5 separate regions of the Homo sapiens genome follow, and all the other regions are linked to region 1. The links are contacts of gene promoters, found by promoter capture Hi-C in blood cells and fetal thymus (Javierre and others, 2016). All regions are on one chromosome and are shown on one strand. Each heading gives the region's core, a stretch centred on a gene start or on the middle of the fragment in contact. The rest is flanking DNA. Distances are from core to core; before and after follow the strand shown. Region 1 holds the start of LRRC8D (leucine rich repeat containing 8 VRAC subunit D). Region 2 has its middle 27 kb from the start of LRRC8B. Region 3 overlaps LRRC8B (leucine rich repeat containing 8 VRAC subunit B). Region 4 has its middle 9.0 kb from the start of LRRC8B. Region 5 has its middle 55 kb from the start of LRRC8B.

What was found. The method cuts DNA at HindIII sites, captures the fragments that hold promoters and counts their contacts. A CHiCAGO score of 5 or more calls a contact.
Region 2: a contact is called between a fragment that was not itself captured here and the fragment with the promoter of LRRC8D in region 1, in 1 of 17 cell types (activated CD4 T cells). The highest score is 5.8, in activated CD4 T cells.
Region 3: a fragment that was not itself captured here is called in contact with the fragment with the promoter of LRRC8D in region 1 in 5 of 17 cell types (monocytes, total B cells, M1 macrophages and 2 more); the score reaches 6.5 in monocytes.
Region 4: a fragment that was not itself captured here is called in contact with the fragment with the promoter of LRRC8D in region 1 in 12 of 17 cell types (activated CD4 T cells, total B cells, non-activated CD4 T cells and 9 more); the score reaches 8.0 in activated CD4 T cells.
Region 5: a contact is called between a fragment that was not itself captured here and the fragment with the promoter of LRRC8D in region 1, in 3 of 17 cell types (activated CD4 T cells, non-activated CD4 T cells and naive CD4 T cells). The highest score is 7.1, in activated CD4 T cells.

Annotation. Positions count from the first base shown.
Region 1 is chr1:89,819,624-89,822,323 of GRCh38, forward strand. It overlaps LRRC8D (leucine rich repeat containing 8 VRAC subunit D), which reads left to right and starts at 1,409. Exons shown (of 3, transcript NM_001134479.2): 1 at 1,409-1,668. It overlaps LRRC8D-DT (LRRC8D divergent transcript), which reads right to left and starts at 2,171. Exons shown (of 1, transcript NR_185885.1): 1 at 551-2,171. RefSeq lists silencers at 938-997, 1,438-1,787, 1,888-1,987, 2,078-2,287, 2,159-2,378. The HindIII fragment of the contact is 10,555 bases long and covers 1-2,700 here.
Region 2 is chr1:89,496,603-89,499,302 of GRCh38, forward strand. No RefSeq gene overlaps it. Among named protein-coding and RNA genes, the nearest start is that of LRRC8B, 27 kb to the right of the region's middle. The HindIII fragment of the contact is 1,576 bases long and covers 650-2,225 here.
Region 3 is chr1:89,552,910-89,555,609 of GRCh38, forward strand. The region is part of intron 1 of LRRC8B (leucine rich repeat containing 8 VRAC subunit B); the gene reads left to right. Among named protein-coding and RNA genes, the nearest start is that of LRRC8B, 29 kb to the left of the region's middle. The HindIII fragment of the contact is 2,997 bases long and covers 1-2,700 here.
Region 4 is chr1:89,514,490-89,517,189 of GRCh38, forward strand. No RefSeq gene overlaps it. Among named protein-coding and RNA genes, the nearest start is that of LRRC8B, 9.0 kb to the right of the region's middle. The HindIII fragment of the contact is 2,374 bases long and covers 189-2,562 here.
Region 5 is chr1:89,468,265-89,470,964 of GRCh38, forward strand. No RefSeq gene overlaps it. Among named protein-coding and RNA genes, the nearest start is that of LRRC8B, 55 kb to the right of the region's middle. The HindIII fragment of the contact is 4,080 bases long and covers 1-2,700 here.

The sequences.
Region 1 (2,700 bases), core at 159-2,658:
AAGACCTCTCATCTCTTAGATCAGCAAATCTGACACTGATTAGATCACTTACACACACTCCCTGCCCATACACCTCCTTCTTGGCAGTGTGTGGAACAGGAGTGGCTGCTGGCAAGGAGGGTCGGGGAAGGAAAGTGAGAGCAAAAGGGCCGAGGGCTCAGAATCTGGTGGCATCTTGTAACGGGTCTCGGGCAGTCCCTTGAGTGTATTCTGGACCTCTCTGTTCATGTTCCTGTTTGGGCTGCTCTTCTTCACGTCCAATGCCTGAGGGCCAAGTGCTCACCATCCAAGGGTCAATTCTATCAGCTCCTCTCTGAATCCTTTTCTGAAACCCTGGACAATCATTCTCTTTAATGTCTCACTGTCTCTGAACCGACACCTTCCTGAGTACCTGTAACATTTGTGCAGCATGCTTATTAAGAATATTTAGATGCTGGGTAAACGTTGATTGAACATTTGCTGACATGGAGAGATATTGGTAGAAGACAGATTAGACTTCCGATGGTTTACAGAAACACATGGATTCAGATAAAAGAAGATATGAAAGCACTGGGTTGAACCACATATTTTATTACAACCAAATAACTCCAAATATCCCGCCTTAATTTATTTATTGGCCCCTGCCTCTGCTCACCCACAAAAAAGACTGCAAATGAACCCCGATCCTACAACAACAACAACAAAAAACGGTGACATTATCGGGCTGCAAAACCCTCTTAGCATAGAATAATCTTTTCATCTGCCTCTTTCAGATGTAACATATTTTTGACGAAAAGAATGGGATGAAAACGGCGGGCTCAGATAAAAACAAGAACCGACTTTCCAATACAGCTTCAATAACAGACGGAACACATGAAGCTGAGAAACTCTCCATGCCAAGTAGTAGTTGTGTGTGCCCCAAAGCTCAGATAAGTACTTCTCCTTAGAGTTGGAAGGCACTTAAGTGACTTTTTAACGTAATTCAACTCCCCACCCCCAGCGCCAAGTCTTAATATCAGAGTTTTAGTCGACGGGACAGCCTCCTTCGCCCAGGACGGGTGAAGGCTCCTGACCATGCCTCGCAGCTAACTGGCAGCTGCGCCTGCCCGGCACCGAGCCCTGCCCAGGTGGACGCTTGCGAGAGCATTACGGCGATGGTTATGTAGGCTGCCGTTCTTCCCCTCCCAAGCACCTGCTCCGCATCTAGCAGTCGCTCGCCGCCAGTCTCCAACCCCGGGTCCCCTCCCTCGCCACACAGACCCCGTCCGGTCAGGCGCTGCAGGGCCACCGGAGAAAGCGCTCGCAATCACATGGAGGCCCGGGCCCGCCCCATTGGCTGCGGCCGGGCCAGTCGCGGCACTCGCCGGCTGCGGTTGGTCCCAGAGCTGCAGCGCCTGCACGGGCCCGGAGTCCATGTTACGCTTTGTCTAATTCCCCTCGTTACAGAGTCATGTGCTGCTGCTCCCGTCGCCGCTGCTGCCGCTGCCGCTGCCGCCGCCCGTGGTGCCCCGGCTCCTCCGCCGCGCTTCGAGGTGGCAGCCGCGGGCGGGGCCGCGGGAGCAGGGTCCAGGGTGCAGCGCGCCTTCGCCGCCCCGGCGCGTCCCGGTGCAGCCGCCGCCCGCCGCGGGTGATGCCGCCACCTCCGGCCTCAGCATAAGCCGTGGCTTGGCGGCCGAGCTGCACCCCAAGGTTGGTGCGCACCTCTCCCGGCAGGGGCCGGGGGCTGCGAGGGAAGGCGACGCGCAGGTGGAGCCGCGCCGAGCCGGAGCGCGCAACCCTGGCGCAGGCGCCGCGGCCCGAGCTGCGGTTGCGGCCGGGAACTCATTCGGGGACGTCCGGGGGTCGGGAGGAGGTGGCGGCGAGCGGAGTGGGCTCCCGTTTGCTGCCGCCAGGGCCTGGGAGATTGTTCCGCTTTCTGCAGTCTGAGCGTCGGCCGCTTCGGCCCCGGGCGGCCGGCCCTGCGGGAGGGGAGTGCGGCTTCCTGGCTCCTGAACCCCTCGCGCGCGCTCCCTTCTCTCACCTCCCTCCGCCCTATCGGAAAGGCGGGGAGAGCCGGTTTCGGCTCTGCTGGTTCCTCCCGGAGGTGGGTGTTTGGTGTCTGGCCTTGCTGGCCCGGCGTCCAAAGGTGAGCCCTTTAACTTCTCCAGAATCGCCTCCCCTCCGCTTCCTTCCTGTGCAGGGTGGGCTGCGCTGGGAGCCCGGCGGGCGGGGGCGGGGAGGTGAAGGCCCGCGCCCCGCCCCCCGCGCCTGTGGGAGGGAGCTGGGGGCCCGCAGGTGCACCCAGCCGTCCGCGGGCCGTCTCCGGGTTGGGTACCGGTATAATCCGCTTCTAGCTTGTTTGGAGGCGTGGGCTCTTGGGAGCGGGACTTCTGCTCAAATCCTGTCCAGGGGCTTGAAAAGGAGGAGAATTGGGGGTGGTTGCCGGGAGGACCAGCACCTCCAGTTACTGGAGGGTTGATAGGGGCCTTCTCCTTTCCGTCACCCTTTACTAGGGGGTATCCCTTGCAGATAAATGAGATTTTTTGATTTCTTAAAAAGCCAGCTGCAGTGAAGAAGAACTGCTGCAGGTCGAGGGGAAGAGAGGTAGGTCCTTGCTGGAGAGGGAGAGGTGGGCTGTGAGGTTCCAGGAGCACGCACTTGGGGTGTGTGTGGCCGAAAGTATGGAGGTAGGGTTGTGGGAAGGAAACAGCCGAGATGAGAGGGAGGGCGCACTCAGGATGT
Region 2 (2,700 bases), core at 188-2,687, 320 kb before region 1:
CCCAGCCATCCCATTACTGGGTATAATACCAAAGGACTATAAATCATGCTGCTATAAAGACACATGCACACGTATGTTTATTGCGGCACTATTCACAATAGCAAAGACTTGGAACCAACCCAAATGTCCAACAATGATAGACTGGATTAAGAAAATGTGGCACATATACACCATGGAATACTATGCAGCCACAAAAAATGATGAGTTCATGTCCTTTGTAGGGACATGGATGAAATTGGAAATCATCATTCTCAGTAAACTATTGCAAGGACAAAAAACCAAACACTGCATGTTCTCACTCATAGGTGGGAACCGAACAATGAGAACACATGGACACAGGAAGGGGAACATCACACTCTGGGGACTGTTGTGGGGTGGGGGGAGGGGGGAGGGATGGCATTAGGAGATATACCTAATGCTAGATGACGAGTTGGTGGGTGCAGCACACCAGCATGGCATGTGTATACATATGTAACTAACCTGCACATTGTGCACATGTACCCTAAAACTTAAAGTATAATAATAATAATAAAAGAAAAAAGAAAAAATAATAAAAAGTAAAAAATAAATAGGTCAGGAATTGGTGAAAAAAAAAAAAGAACAGGGAACCAAAGCAAAACTGGACAAATGGGATCACATCGAGTTAAAAAGCTTCTGCACAGCAAAGTAAACAATCAACAAAGTGAAGAGCCAACTCAATGGGACAAAATATTTGCAAAGTATGCATCTGACAAGGGATTAATAAGCAGAATATATAAGGAGCTCAAACAACTCTGCTGGAAAAAATCCAATAATCTGATTTCAAAATGGGCAAAAGATCTAAATAGACCTTTCTCAAAATAAGATATACAAATGACAAACAGGCATATGAAAAGGTGCTCAACACCACTAATCATCAGAGAAATATAAATCAAAACTACAATGAGAGATAATGTCACCCAAGTTAAAATCGCTTTTATCCAAATGACAAGCAATAATGAATGCTGGTGAGAATGTGGAGTTGGTCAGAGTATAAATTAGTACAACTGCTACAAAGAACAGTTTGGAGGTTCCTCAAAAAACTAAAAATAGAGCTACCATATGATCCAGCAATCCCACTGCTGAGTATATACCCAAAAGAAAGAAAATAAGTATATTGAGGTGAGAGCTGCATTCTCTTATTTATTGCAGCACTATTTACAATAGCCAAGATTTGGAAGCTACCTCAGTGTCCATCAACAGAGAAATGGATAAAGAAAATGTGGTACATACACACAATGGAGTACTGTTAAACCATAAAAGAATGTGATTCTGTTATTTGCAACAACATGGATAAAACTGGAAGTCATTAGGTTAAGTGAAATAAGCCAGGGAGAAAAAGACAAACATTGTCTTTTCTAACTTACGTGTGGGAGCTAAAAATTAAAATAATTGAACTCATGGAGATAGAGAGTAGAACAATGGTTACTAGAGGCTGAGAAGGGTAGTGTGGGGGTGTAGGGGTGGAGGGTGGATGGTTAATGGGTACAAAAATATAGTTAGAGGGAATAAATAATATCTAGTATTTGATAGCACAACAGGGTACAATAATTTGTTGTACATTTTACAATAACTAAAAGAGTATAATTGGATTATTTGTAACACAAAGGATAAATGATTGAGGTGACAGATACCCCATTTATCCTGATGTGATTATTATGCATTGTATGCCTATATAAAAATATCTCATGTATCCCATAAATACATATACCTACTATGTACCTACAATTTTAAATTTTTTAAAAAAGAATACTTTCTGGAGGGTTAATGCATGGATCCACCATCTCACAGCCGCCTGAGACATTCTTTCTTCTTGTAAGTCCCTATTAAATATTTGTTTCTCTCTGAAAAAACAGATTTGTCCACCATTTTCTGTATTCTTCAGCTCCCTCACCTTTGGAAGTATGTTTGCATAGACCCTTCACCGCAGAACAGTCATTGCATAAAATCTAATATAGACTAATAAAAAAATAGATTTATAAAGGGCCCTGGGTCTAGCTCAACCCAGTTCCTGACCTCTATATTCTTCCCCACCCAGAATCACTGGATCTGTATCCAGGTTCACACCAGCCAGCTCAGTCCCTAGGCCTAGCTTGAGACTGCCCCATCCCCACATCATCTCAGAGCTCCACGTGGCGACCTTCATTCTTAATCCGACCCTGGCTCCAGGCCCCACTTCTGATAAGTGGGACTTCGCTGCATCACCAAGCTTTGGCATCTACCTCTGTGGCTTGCCTAAATATCCACCCCAGTACACGCATCCAGTTGCAGCTCCCTTTTAGCAGTGTACTGATGAGTCCTAGCCCCTCCTATGAGCCTATTATCATGGAAATAGCTGATATGCTCTTCTGAATCCCAATAATAAAGAGTAAACATGTATCAATATCTTATTAAGTTCCAGTCACTGTGTGAAGTATTGTATTATTTCAGTTTGTTCTTACAACAACCCTATGAAGTACATATTATTGCCTTTTACAAATGAGGAAATCGAGACACATACAGGTTATATAATTTTCCCAATATTAATTGCTTATGACTAGTAGAGACAAGACTTGAATAAGCTATGTTGTGGTTTTTAGTACAACTGCTAATTTAATGCATACACATTCTCCAGGGGGAAAAAGAATTAAACTAATTCAAGAAATGCCATTGAAAAACTTAAACCATGTATGCAGGAAGGCT
Region 3 (2,700 bases), core at 99-2,598, 270 kb before region 1:
ATTTTCAGATGAAATTTTAATAATGCTTCAGATAATTCCAATTGTGTTCTTTCATTTTACTCTGCTTTCACAATATGATCATATTTGGTTTCACTTCCTGGTTAGTGCACACAAGCCTGTTGCTGGGAAATATTTGAATAAAATGTTTATGAGAGAAGACTATTGTTTCAAAGTAGAGGAAGGCATTTTTGTTTGATTTAGACTTAGTTCATGTAGTAATTTTTATAGAAATAAAATTTCTGACATGTAAATTGGTTAAAAACACTCTTTAAAAATAATTTAAAAGACTTATTTCGCACTGAAATTAAGTTACCTTGTGGTGAAATCATCTCTTCTACAGAAGTGTTTGATTAGGTACCAGTTGTGCAACAAATGAAATGTTTGTCCATAATTAGAGTAATTGTAACTTGATTTTAAACAGAGGTTTGATTGCATGGTGAGTGTCATAATGCCAAATGATTTTTCCATTGATTCAGGGCCCAGTGTATTCTTAAGTTGATGTTTGATCTCAGCATGTTTAACCTGGCCCAGAATATATCTGGCACCCTTTTGTGTGTGTGTTGTAAATGACTGTTCTTCTGTGTTACAGCTTCATACAAAATCTTTGCCTATTCTAAAAGTGGTATTTTTACCATTAAGTATTTAATTCCACCAGAGTACTCAGGTATTACCTAGTCTAAAAAAGTACAAATCAAATTTATTTCTCTTTGGAAAAAGTCAGTTAAGAATTTCAGGAAACGTCTGCTTCCTTAAAATCTAATTACTTTGTCCATTTGCATCAGTTTACTGGCTAAATCTGAAAGTTTAATTTTTTAAAGCGTAACTATTTTTCTACTCAGAATTTTAATTTTGAAGTCCATTTATGTTTTATTTCTCAAGGTACCTAGATATATACCCTAATATAAAATTAGGCTTCCTGCTGTCAATCTTGAACTCTCTCCAATGAATTCTTTCTGATGCTTTCAAATTAATTTTCTTGATATATAATAGTATGTCCCTAAATGTATTTTTCTGTCATTCCCTTGCTCAGATACCACCAGTGACTTCCTACTGCTTATATCAAGCCTAAATTCCTCTCTCCTTGTAAAAAGATTTGAATATTCTAAAAGTGACATATTTACCCCCTAAAGCAATAATTTCTCAGGTGCCTGTTATGTTCTGGGCCTGAGTTAAATCTTGAAAATTTTTTAGTGTGGAATTTGAGACTTAATTAGCATTTGATCCTAATCACCTTTCTACTCTTAGCCCCATCATTTCTGTCTCATAAATTCCACTCCATCTATGCATCTGCTCACTAATTCATTAAATTGACCTTGGCTTTCTTTTGCCTTCTTTATTTGTTGTTCCATTCCTCCACATAAAATATTATGTGCCCTGTTATTAACCAACCCCTTTTACCCCTTATTCCTTCACCCCCTAACTATATAAATCTTACGCATCTTTCTTGGTCCAACTCATAAACCCTGTACAGTGACTATTGTTCTTCTAGCATGTATTACTTTAAGATGTAACTGTATAATTCATTTGTTTGATCTTTCTTGTACTTATGCCTTCTTTCACCAATGCATAAGCTCCTTTTGAGATTTAGGTCTGAGTGTGACACCTTTCGATTGCCTTCATTACCTGGGCCAGTTCTTTGCACCCAGCAGAAACTTCATCATGATTGTCGAGTACACCTAGTGTCAGAGCATGTGCAAGATGTAATATTTCCACTTGCTGTTGGTGACACAAGTTGGTGTTACATAAGGCCTTCTTCATTTCTACCTTTCTTCAACTGAGAGTCACAAAGTTGTTGCCTTCCTTAAATGGATAAGACTCTCCACACAATAAAAACAGATGGTATTGTCAAATATAAATAGGTAAATATTATTTTTTGTGCATGGATGAGAGAGAAAAGACAGGAAAAAAACTACACTTGTAGTTTTCTTGGCACAGTCTTTTTGCCCTTCAAATTTGGTTGCTAAGAAATAACCATAGATTCATCTGCTGTGTATAAAGGAGAAACTTAGAGACTCTGTGTGTTGTGCAGCTGATTTTGTCACTCAGCTATGACAGAGCCCCACCCTGATTTAGAAGTCATGTGTCAAACTTCCAGATGGGGAGTATATCTTTTGTCTCCTGGAAAACCATTGAAACTCTGTTTCCAGAGGGCCCATGTTTCTCCTCTTTGCTAAGACCAAGTGAAGCTGCAGAATCCTGCTGAGTTATGAAGCCCGAAGCCAGCCTAATGTGGAGAAATGACCTGTCACCTTTTTTGGAATGTAGGCATTCTATGTGATTCATATTAGTTATTTGTGCGTTATTTTAGAAGAACCTTACTCTATCACTTCAGAGTGCCCAGAGCTGCCCTAACTTATTCTGAATGCTATGGCTGAGCTAAATTCGTCTTCTCTGCTGATGGGGCTCAAATGGAGTCTTTAGTCTCTGCTAAAGGATTCAGGAAGCCTTTCATGTCATGTAGAATTTGGGATGTAAATTGAAGGTAAGAAGGTATGAAGATTGTAAGATATTTTTGCAGTTTTTGCTTCCAAACAAGGAGGTCTAATTAAAACTCTTGTATCTGTTCAATTAATATTTAGTAGCAGCTTCTACAAGCTAAGCCCTGGGGTGCATTGATAAGCATGATACATGTAGACCAGACCTCAGAGAGAAATAAACCTTTAATCAAACAATTACTTATAGGTTTGTGATAAATGTTAT
Region 4 (2,700 bases), core at 126-2,625, 310 kb before region 1:
CAAAAGGCTTAGGAAGCAGTTATCACACTTTCCCATCCCCACACACCTAGGCATACAAAATAAAAAAGCATTTATTTCATGTTAATTAACAGTTTATTGACCGCCCACTATCCCAAGGTACCATGTTAGGCTTTGGAGTATCAAAGGGGGGAAAAGACATACTCAAGAAATTTAGAGTCTAGTTAAGAAGCTTGCCTCAATTTCCTAATCACCTTTCTTCCATCAATCAAGGAAAGCATCTAGTAACTAATCATTCACTTCTCTAACCATACACATATATGTAGAAAAATGTATGGATTAATTGTCCTTGTTTGAAAACAGTAGGTTCAGGAGGTTGCTATAGTTTGAATGTTTGTTCCCCCAAAACTCATATTAAAATTTGATCTCTAATGTTGCAGGTGGGGTCTATTGGGAGGTGTTTGGTACATGGAGATGATTCCCTCATAAAGAGATTAATGCCTTCCTTGCGGCTGGGGAGGTAAATGAGTTCTCACTCTTACTAGTTCCTGCAAGAGCCAATTGTTATAAACAACCTAGCACCTCCCTCCCCTCTCTCTTGCCTCCTCTCTCACCATCTAATTTCTATATTCTGACTCCCCTTCACCTCTGTCATGAATGAAAGTAGCCTGAAGCCCTTACCAGAAGCTGAGCAGATGCTGGCACTATGCTCCCAGTACAGCCTGCAGAACTGTGAGTTAAAGAAACTCATGTTACCCAGCCTCCGGTGTTCCTTTATCAAAAAACAAATGGACTAAAACAAGGGCCTTAGAGACAAACTAATCAAAGCCTCTCATTTTAAAGATGAAAATTATAAATACAAAGCAGGTAAGTGACTTATTTGAGATTATTATTATAGCTAATACTAATATGGGACTTATTATGTTCCCAGAACTGCCTTAACCACATTATATATTTGAATGATCCTCACCACAATCAGTTCCTCAAGCAGCAAACTAAGGCACAGAGAAATTGAGTAACTTGACAAAGACCAAACAGTTCATAAGGACAAAGCCAAGATTTGAACCCAGTAGTTTTGCTTCAGAATCCAAGCTATGCTTAGGTAGCTATTTCTAAAGATAGGCATGAATTTTTGACACATGTTCATACACTGGCTTGCTATTTGATACTAATCATCATGGTTGTTTCCAGCATCTCCAAACCTAATATCTCATGATATTATGATACTTAAAAGTCACAAAACACACAAGTTGAAAAGAGTAGTGTGATTGCCAACGTGGATGAGGATGCTACCAGGAGGAGGAAATGAGGACATCCAAAGTCATGACAAATATATTTATAATAAGCTAACTTTGGCAAATATTGCCACTGGTGTATTATTCCTTTGTCATCCCTAATCACCCCCATGTACTCCCTCCTATCTCCAAACCCTGGTCTTCTATATGTGTTTTCAATCAAGTAGGAACAGGTTAAGCTGTAAAACCTAAAGTGGATGGAGTTGGGGTTAAATCCTGGGATGACTGGAATACCCAAGATAGAGAAAATCTGTGTTTCAGAAGTCTCAGACCTCATTTCATTTCATACATTCACTCATCAATGAATAAATATTTATTCTGTGCCCACTTGGTAAAAAGCACAGACCCAGTTACTGGAAATACACCAGTCCATGTGATGAATTTGGCCTTTTCCCTCCTCACACACACAGTGTCGCAGCATTCCTCCAGAGGAGGTAAGACATCTGCAGTTAAGCAAGTGTCATCTTCCAACCTCGTGGACCTCTGAATGGTGCCTGAGCTGCAGGAGGTTTAACAGAGTGACTCAGCAAGGCGAGGGACTGCTAATAGATTATTAGTCACTCTTAGGTATACAGGCCATGGGGTAAGAGAATGTTGTTTAGAAATGGCTATAATACATTATTTGAGTGATTTGTATGAACTACAAACTAGTTTATAAGTAAAAATTGCTCGCTTTGTTATTGTATTTTGTTAGAATGCACATATCCTTTTTGTCCTTGGGGACCCTGAATAGCAAAATATTATATCTGCTTATTGAATTGATAAACTAAGTAATTCCAGAAATTTTGGAAATTGAGTTCACTCAAAGATAGATATGAAACTGCAAAATTTCCACCACCTATATATCTATTTTCATCTTTTAGTATGAGTCCCCACTTCTTTCCTTGTAATCAAGCTACCATAACTTTCCCACCTACACTGAGGTCTTTGTCAGCCACCAAAATCTGTTCTGCTTACTAAAACAACAGGCTTCCTCTGAAGCCCTAAGTTCTTTAATTCACTCAGCATGATGTTATTTCTAAAAATGTTTTTCCCACTTTAACCCAATCTCTCCTGTATCAAGATAATAACTAATTAATTATCGTTGTCCCTCAATTTTGTAATGAGGTTTAAAAAAACCCATTATTTTCATACCCTTTATCATAAGGTAGCCAGGCTACATTCAGCTATTACAAAGCACATTTGAGTTATAGGTGTAAATCTATATACCTTGTATATAGCTTGTGTTAGGGGATTTTACTGGACCCCCATATCTGCTCACATATCTGGCTACATATTTACTTGCATATTTTACGTTTTAAAAACTTCAAGCTTCTTATGAGCAAGTGTCCTGTTGCCTTTATATGCTCCAGAAACAGAAATTTGATGGAGACAAAGAAGTGGATAAAAAGAAGAACAAGCAGATAATTGGAAGGTGTGTTTGCATTTAGGTGTGTAAGATTCAGGG
Region 5 (2,700 bases), core at 6-2,505, 350 kb before region 1:
CATGCACACATCCTGAAGTTGGAAGACAAAAGTTTAAGTCCTACTTCCACCATGCACTAGCTGAATGGTTAAACTCTGAGCATGCTTCCTTACTGATTGTATGAGTATAATGGTGATACCTAAAAGGTTTATTTTTTTATCAAATTCTGAAATGACTAATAAAACATTTTATGAATTATAAATATAAATTAGGACTGAATACTAATAAATGACAAAACAGACACGTTTGTTTCAAGTTCTAAAAGAAGTTATTGACATTAAAAAACAAAGAGAATACTCACATTGTACATTTCTCTGTGTTCTGTTACCATATTGAGAAAGCAAAGAAGAATATTTAGAACACTCAGTAAATGAAAGGCATGGTTTAACCTGGAATAACTGAATCTGTGAAATAATGAGGAGCTTCAAAAATTGTCTCCAGATTATTTCTCATGCTGACTCTAGCTGGAATATGTTAGTACAGTTTAGCAAAAAAAATTATGAATGCCCTGCCACATGAAGTTGACAGATAATGTTGTGTGTTAGAGAAACTATAAAGATGAATAAGGTAAAATTTCTGTCTTCAAGAGCAAAGAGTAATGAAGGTCTTAGTTATGCATTATCAGCTGGGATAGTTGGCTCCAAAATTATTTACCCCTTACCTCTCTCTCATTATCTCCCTCTCTCTTTCTCTCTCTCCCTCTCTCTCGTTATACATCTGCATATATTAAATCTATGCATGTATACATGAACAATTGAATATATGCTCATACATATTCTTAACAGCCTCTAGAATCATTCCTTGCAAAATTACATATTTTTGTCTCATTCCTTCTATTTTAGTAAAGGGCATCATCATCAACCTGGCTGTTTAAACTACAGGGAGCCTAGGAAAATACAAGTTAAAATAACTATTATGTTATAAATGTGCTTGAAATCATAAGGGAAGATAATAATAATAGTTCATAATAATTGAATGCTTATAGACCTTATATTGCCCATCTCATTGCAGCTTCAGAACAATGCTGATGGGGTGGTAACAAACCACCCCAAGCTATATATAATAGGTAACCGAAACACCTAGAAAACTGGTTCCCATACTATATTTCACATTGAGCTACAGGAGCAAAAGCCATGAATGTATAATCACTTGCTCAGTTTTTTAATCAAGTTGAAGCTAAATAACAACATCTTATTGTTTGCAGCTTTGTGGTGACTATAAATCTTTTGTTAATATAATGCCGGTAGTGATTTATTTTTGCTGTTTAAATTCATAAATTGCAGGATTCTAGGCAAACATCGCACTTACCCCTCAAGGGTAATATACCAAATTTTAAAAGGTTATGATAAAAATCCTGAGTCTTTCAAGAGATATGACTGAAAAACTGGGATACCTAAACAAATTATAAATAGAAAATGATTCATCTCGAAGTCTTTTTCAGTTTATTTAGTTTAAAACATCATAAATTAAATTTAGTGAAGCTGGAGAGTTTGAGAAAAAGAATAAGAAAAGACAAACAAAAATCAGAAATTGTTTTACAATAGCTGGAGACAGAGTGAGATTAATTTTTTTATTTTAATTCGTGCCAACCTGGGAAAGAGATGAATAAATGAGCTCCAAAACCTACCTTCATCCACAGAGTGGGCATTCATTTTTACCTTCTCCTCCACTAAAGTTAAACAAGAGCTACTTAGGTGAGCAGTATTTCCCTGGGCTGCATTCCAAATTCCAACCAACCTTCCATGGTCATCTGGTGAAATTAGAAATGGCCAGAATATAGACAAAACCAAAGACTAAGAAAGATTCCTGAATATTAAGAGACATTTTAAATGCACAAAATGTTTACTCCAAAAACCTCTGCAGAAATTCTGGAAATAAAAGCCTTCTGTCTGCCTCATATGTCACTCTATTTATCTTTAGAGCTGATGGTTGACTAGGATGGTTTGAGAGTCCTGTCTCCTCTAAGTCTCATGTATTGCTGCCAGTGCTACGAGGTCAACCCATGAGGACAATATTCCTCTCCAAGCATACATGAGTAACTGCAGTTCCCTAAACTTTTCTTCTCTAAAAAAGGTCTATTTGTATCAGAGTATTCAGGAAATATCTTGAAATTCTATTAAATGACAAGGAACCTCACATTCCAAAAATCTCTAGCTTTTTGACCCTTCCAAATCTATTTATGTATTAATCTAACAAACCTAAGTGATATAACAAATTTAAGAAATAATCAATGTATGCCCTAAGCTCTGAGCTAGAAAACAAATGTTAAAAGTAAAGAAAACATGGACACAGGGAGGGGAAAATTACACACTGGGGCCTGTTGGGGGGTGGGGGTCTAGGGCAGGGATATTATTAGGAGAAATATGTAATGTAGACGACGGATTGTTGGATGCAGCAAACCATCATGGCATGTGTATACCTATGTAACTAACCTGCACATTCTGCACATATATCCCAGAACTTAAGGTATAATAATAAAAAAAAAGAAAAAAATGAGACAATGAACTTTCTAAAAAATAAAGAAAAGCAAAGAAATTTGCCAACTATATAAATCTTTATCTGTAAAATTAATTATTTAGATAAGAATCTCAATCATTACAATCAGCACAAAAAGTGATTTTGCTGAATGGAGTTCTCTGATACAAAATGAAATAATAATATACTATATTTTTCTTAAATTCCAATTTGTTTTATCTTTAGTAGTTAACATAAGCATGTGG